Regions from separate parts of the Homo sapiens genome. Here region 1 is linked to region 2. The links are contacts of gene promoters, found by promoter capture Hi-C in human tissues and cell types (Jung and others, 2019). All regions are on one chromosome and are shown on one strand. The core of a region is centred on a gene start or on the middle of the fragment in contact, and the rest is flanking DNA. Distances in the headings are between cores, read along the strand shown. Region 1 has its middle 23 kb from the start of NFIL3. Region 2 holds the start of ROR2 (receptor tyrosine kinase like orphan receptor 2).

Region 1 (3,207 bases), core at 569-3,068, 500 kb after region 2:
ATGAGAGCTAAACCATAAAACTCTTACAGGAAAGAATAGACATGATCTTCAACACCTTGGATTTGGCAATAAATTTCTAGATATTACACCAAAAGCACAATTAACAAAAGGGAAAAATAGACAAATTGGGCTTCTTCAAAATTAAAAACTTTTGTGCATCAAAGAACACTGTCAACAGAGTAAAAAGGCAACTTACAGGATGGTAAAAAGAATATTTGCAAGTCATATAACTCATAAGGGTTCAATATCAAGAATAGAAAAAGAATTCTTAGAACTCAACAATAGAAAGACAACACAACTAAAAAGTAGTTAAAGGACTTGAATAAATATTTCTCCAAAGAAGATATACTCATAGTCAATAAGGATGCGATAAGATACTCAACATCACTAACCACTAGGGAAATGAAAATTAAAGAGGCACAATGAGATATCACTTCACAGATACTAGGATGGCTATAATTTTAAAAATGGAAAATAACATATGTTAGCAAGGATATGGAGAAATTGGAACTCTTGTGTGTCATTGGCATAAATATAAAATGGTGCAGCTCCTGTGAAAAACAATTTGCCAGTTCCTCAAGAAGCTAAACATAGGATTACTATATGAACCAGCAATTCCACTACTAGCAATCTCAATACCCAAAGGAATTGAAAGCAGGACTCAAACAGATACTGGAATGCCAGTGTTCATCACAGCATAGTTCATAATAGCTCAAAGTCAGAGACTACCCATGTATCCATCAACAGATGAATGGGTAAACAAAATGTGATATATACATACAAATGGAATACTATTCAGCTTTAAAATGAATGAAGTTCTTATATATGCTATACATGGTTAAGACTTGAAAACATCAGGGCCGGGCGCAGTGGCTCACATCTGTAATCCCAGCATTTTGGGAGGCCGAGGCAAGCAGATAACCTGAGGTCGGGAGTTTAAGACCAGCTTGGCCAACATGGTGAAACCCCGCCTCTACTAAAACTACAAAAATTAGCCAGGCATGGTGGTGCGGACCTGTAATCCAAGCTACTTGGGAGGCTGAGGCAGGAGAATCACTTGAACTCAGGAGGTAGAGGTTGCTGTGAGCCAAGACCATGCCATTGCATTCCAGCCTGGGCAACAAGAGCAAAACTCCATTGAAAGAGAGAAAGAAAGAAAGAGAGAGAGAGAGAGAGAGAGAAAGGGAGGGAGGGAGGAAGGAAGGGAGGGAGGGAGAGAAAACATCATACTTAGTAAAATAAGCTAGACACAAGAGCACGTATATTGTATGATTCCACTAATATGAAATACCTAAAATGGTCAAATGTATGGAGACAGAAAGTATATTAGAGATTACTAGAGGCTGAGGGGTGAAGGAAGAAGGAGTTATTGTTTATGGTTACAGAGTTTCCATTTGGAAGGATGAAAATGGTTTTGGAAATAGTGATGATGGTTGTACCATATTGCAAATGTAATTAATGCTATTGAATTGCACTTTTAAAATGGGTAAAATTAGGGGTGATTTCAGCAAGATGGTCAACTAGAAGTTCGTAGAACTCGTTGCCTTGCAACACACACAAAAACAAAACAATGAATATACAACTACATTTCAACCAAAATAACTAAAGGAGAACACTAGAGAAGAGAAAAGGAGCAACAGAAATCCTGTGAAGCACAGAAATCCAGTATGGCTACGTAGAGAAGGGAAGGAAACAGTTTGCCTCCACCAACTGGTCGCCCAGTAAGGATCAGCTCATAACCAGGAGAGACTTTCTCTCTGCAGGGAAAGGTAAGCAAGAGGACTCCTGAAACCCCCATCACCACTGTGGACATCTGCATTCTTCATTATTGGAGACTCCCACAGTCCTCACAGATTCTGATCCTAGTTAAGGGAGCTCCCCAGTGTCTACACACTGCACTACCCCAGAGAAAGAGCTGATGTTGTATCTCTCTCCTTGTGGTCTGAGCTGCTGCTGTTCTACACCGTCTTGGAATTAGGGCCACTGCCAGACTGTGTTCTGCTCCAGGGATGAGTAGCCATTGCACCTCTCCATCCCTGAGTCTTTGCTGCCACTGTACCATGCCCACATGATAGCATTACCATCTCTAAGTCAAGCTGTTACTACAACCTACCCCTGAGCTAAGCTACTGTGGAGACACTCCATCCCCCCGATTTCAGTCACTGGAGCACCCTGCCCTCAGGGTCTGAGCTAACACTCTTCCTCACTGCTCTGGGATCTCAAACCTCTGGCAGTTGCATCTCCAAGTACCATAGCTGAGGTAGTGCCCTGCTTTCTATGGACCCTAAGCTTCAGCCCTACAGAGCAGTCTTGCGCCCCCAGTGCCCAAGCCAATGCTGCACCCCACCCCTCAGAGAACTAGAGCCCCTGGCAATGTGTGTAGCCATACTCTGGAGCTGAGCTGATGTGGCACCTCATATTCCAGGGAAACTTACCCTTGGCTGAGCTGTTCTACCCCACCTTTTAGGCTCCACAGCTAAAGGCCCTGCCTCCCTAAAACTGGAGTAGTCCCCCAGAGTCCAAGCTGCTGAGGCATGCCCACTCCATGGGGAATAGAGTCATCACTGTCTACTCCCCGGTCCTCAGGGCCTAAGCCACAGCTGGGCCATTCCTGGGTCATTGCTGCTGCAACAACTGGCCTCACAGAGCCTGGGTTACTGTCATGCCTCACATTCTCAGAATCCAGAGTCACTACTGTGTGGTATCTCATCCCTCAGGGCCCAAGTTGTCACTGTTTCCTATTGGTTCTGGGACCTGAACTGCAGTTGTGCCTTGCTCCCCAGGGCCAAACCCTCAGAGTACCCCTTCTTCCCAGAGCCAAGTCAGTACTATGCCCTGACCACCAGGACCACAGTCATAGCTACAACCTAGCTCCATGGGCCTCAGCTGCTAGGATATGCCTCAGAGCAACAGACCCCAGCTTTATTAGAGAACTAAAGCCACTTGTGCCTCAGAGAGTGAACTGAACCTCAAGTCCCAGGTCCTATAGTAGTTTTGCAAGACCCTGAGCCCAGCCCAGGACTCTGGCTCTACAGACACTCAGAGCACCTGGGCCCTGGATCCCAGCACCATTACCTGTGGGCCATGTCAGGCTTGAAACGAAGAGAGATTCCTTCAGCTAAGACACTTCAGCTAAGTGGTGGAGAAGAAAAGTACAGGAGAATCTCTAAAGCTCTTGCCACCAAGAATCCTAATAACATATGCTGC
Region 2 (3,469 bases), core at 870-3,369:
CCCCAGCGAGCCTTCAGATAATGGCAGCACTGGCTGACATCTGACTGCAACCTCCTGAGAGACCCTGAGCCAGCACCATCTAGCTAAGTCTCTCCTGCCTTCTCGACCCAGAGAAATGGTGTGAAATAACGAATGTTTACTGTTTTTAGCTGTTAAATCGTGGGGCAATTTGTTATGTGGCAATTGATGACTAATACAGATGGAAAGGAATATGTTGCTCCAATTTGGCCTTGGACGTAAGCCATATTCTCTTAACCACTGAGAAAGCTTGTATTTTCATCCTTCCAACTTTGCTTTTTTTGTTTATCCTTCAGTTCAGAACCTACAGAAAGGGAAGGAGAGAGTGAGAGAGAAATGCCAAAAAAGAAAGCTTTAAAAGGCTTTTAAGAAATCATATGCAATATAACCCACATTTCTGACTCCACCCAAGAAACTGTCAGCAAAATATATGTTGCTGTTTAAACCTTTGAGTTGGGTTTGTGGGGCCTCAGTCATGTGAAAATAACACACAGATGGGGGCATGATGAGGTCATTTTCCTGAAGGTCACACAAAAATAAATGGCAGGGCTGCTGATGAAATGGTTCTGGAGCCACATGCTCACGCTGTGTGAAGTGGAAAGCAAAGGTGCTGGGACCACCTTCTCCGAGCTGCACAGCACCACGGAAAGGACACAGCATTGCTGAGGGAGGGGTTTTCCAGGGCAGGTTCAAGACCCTTCTCTGCAGCCCCTGTTGGGTTTTCCCTAGATCCAGAAGAGAGGGGTGTGGAACTAAGTGCTTCAGCACCTACTCTTAAAACATTACTCTAAAAGCATCCTTAAGGATTCTAAGGGAAGCTAAAGGGAGGAAAACCCCAAAGATAAACCCCTGGCAGTCCTCTAACCACTGGGGAGAGCAGCCCCCCCGTTCAGACCCGCACCAGCCTGGGCAGAGGAACAGCCTGAGCCCGTCTAAGAAGTTTGGTAATAATTTTGCCATCCAGTTGAGGAGGGGCTAGGATCTTCTCCCATTCTCCTACTGGATTTACAGCAGCTCCTGGGAATGAGAACTGCGTGAGATATTTCCCTACACAAATTGGGTAGAGATAGCCGGACGCCTAAATACTTTTAACAGAGGTAACAAGCTAGAGCTGGCTTAGTCATTTTGTCCGCAGACCATAGCAAGAGAGTTTTTATTTCTGGCCACGTCTGAGGCCTCACGTCTGGCACCCAAGGCCAGGGCTCTCCCTAATGCCCTCCAATTAACAGAGCTTGGTACTCCAGCAAAAACACCAAACAAACTGCTGGATAATCAGTTAAAAGATCAATCTCATGGAACAAGCAACTGAGATGCTGGAGAATCCAATTCCTTCCTCTAAGAGGAAAAACAAAGACATTTGCATGTGCTGAGCAAAACCAAGAATAAGCAAGAAAACATGCTATTTGAATTCCGTTCAAAATGTCTCTAATAAGTGAAGCAAATTCTGCACATTCTGGGCCTCTGCAGAGAACAAATAGTGTTCTGCCTTTAATGGGTAAAATTATACAATTTGCTTTTAACAGTAAACCAAAAGCCGCGGTGGCTTCGGATAGCATCGCGCTCCCGAGGGCTCCCTCCACGCAGCTCGACCCCTGGCAGTTTTGAGCATTTCGGGGGACGCGCTTGTCCCCACCGACCTGGGAGGGCGCCGGTGCCAAGGCGGCCTGTTTGTTTTCCTGAACATTTCCTTTTGCAACTTTCGCTTCTCCTCTTCCTGCCTCACCGCTGGTGTCTGGGGCTGGGTGGCTCTCAGATTTGTCCCGGTGCGCAGTGCAGCCTGGAGTTACTGATTTGTGACCTAGATCCCCGGGTGTGTCGCCCCCGAAAGTCGGGGGCACCCGCTCTGGGCGCCTCTCCTGCGTGGGCAGACCCGCCGAACTCCGGCTGACGCCCCCAAGGCGCCACCTTTGTGTTCAAGCGTTCCGAGGCGCAGGCCCGAGGGCGGGCGCAGGAGGCAGGTCCGGGGCCCCAGCTGCAGCCCCAGCTCCTTGGGTCCCGCCCGCCGCCCGCGCGTTCCCCCGGCAGGGGGCGCCGGCGCAAGCCTCGCTCTGCCCATCGGGGCGGGCGAGCGGGGACCCTGCCTCCTGCGCGCTCGCCCGCGGTCCGCCCCCCGCGCTCGTCCTGGCGGCCGGCGGGACGCCCCAGCCCGCGCCAAGGAACCTCCCCAGCCAGCCCTTGCCGTGGCCGGAGCCGAGCGGCGCATCCGGGCCGGAGAAGAGGACGACGACGAGGTCCTCGAAGTGGACCCGTTTGCGAAGCGCCAGGGAGAAGGAGGAGCGGACGCATCGTAGAAAGGGGTGGTGGCGCCCGACCCCGCGCCCCGGCCCGAAGCTCTGAGGGCTTCCCGGCCCCCACTGCCTGCGGCATGGCCCGGGGCTCGGCGCTCCCGCGGCGGCCGCTGCTGTGCATCCCGGCCGTCTGGGCGGCCGCCGCGCTTCTGCTCTCAGTGTCCCGGACTTCAGGTAGGATCTGGCGTTCCGGCTTGTGCGCAGACGGTAGCTCACGGCTCGCTTGGCCAGCCCTTCCGCCGCCACTATGCTCCCGGCCGCTGCGCCGGCGCCCATGCTCCTGAACGAGGGGCGCCAGGCAGGGCCATTCGCATCTCGCCCGACGCCGCTCCCGGCCCGCACCCCGGACCCCCTCGGGCTGGTTACAATAAGCCGCGCTCTGGGGACGCCTAAGTGTTTCCAGAGTCTGGGGGCGGGCGGCGGCGGCTGGGAGCCTCTCGGTGGCGCTTCCCGAGGGTCGCGAGTGGGAGTGCGAGTGTGAATGTGAGTACCCGCCCTGGGCCCGGGACCCGAGTCCGCAGATGTGCCCCGAGGGTCCCAGGACCCGGGCTTCCTCCCCGAGGTCTTCCTCCTTCAAGGGCACACGGCCCCGAGTGTCCCCCGTCTGTCTCGGAGCGTCCCCCCACCCCCAGGGCGGCCTGATGCCTGGCAGAATCCTGGGGTGGACGTGGCCCCGGAGAAGCGGCTCTTGCGGCGGGGGTGGGGGCGCCGGCGGCTCCCGGGTCCTGACTTTCCCAGCCCGCGGGCCGCTTGATGGAAACGGGCTCTTTGGCATCCCTTTTGTTGGTCCCTGAAACCTCCTCTCCCCCACCGCTCTGGGGTGGCCGAAGTGGTGTGTGATCTGGATTGAAATGGTTTGTGACTGGGATCGCGGGTCCCTGAGCGGCTGGGGCGCGGCCGCCTTCTGGCCGCGCCGGGGGGACCCCCGGGACCTGTAGGAGGCTGGCGGCGGGAGGGGCGGGGCCCGGCTCCTAGGTGGGTTTCCTCCCGGGGCCCCACTTCCCCCGAGTCCCTGCGCGGTTTCGGCTGCTTGGATCCGGGGCGCAGAGGAACGGCGGGGAGGTTCGGAAGTGCAGCTTGGGACCTGCCTAGGTTGCCTGGAGGAGGCGGCGTTAGCTCTGGCGGTGCAGACTCCGGGAGCACCTCCCGCCCGCGCGCCTCGG

The links. Contacts are between HindIII fragments. The study calls those that stand out against the background at their distance.
Region 1: a contact is called between a fragment that was not itself captured here and the fragment with the promoter of ROR2 in region 2, in 1 of the 25 tissues and cell types used here (mesenchymal stem cells).

What each region holds. Positions count from the first base shown.
Region 1 is chr9:91,444,767-91,447,973 of GRCh38, reverse strand. It overlaps a transcript of NFIL3 not described here. Among named protein-coding and RNA genes, the nearest start is that of NFIL3, 23 kb to the right of the region's middle. The HindIII fragment of the contact is 5,612 bases long and covers 1-3,207 here.
Region 2 is chr9:91,948,878-91,952,346 of GRCh38, reverse strand. It overlaps ROR2 (receptor tyrosine kinase like orphan receptor 2), which reads left to right and starts at 2,119. Exons shown (of 9, transcript NM_004560.4): 1 at 2,119-2,480. The coding sequence starts at 2,384. RefSeq lists silencers at 1,546-1,840, 1,954-2,133 and enhancers at 2,327-2,826, 2,827-3,328. The HindIII fragment of the contact is 10,523 bases long and covers 1-3,469 here.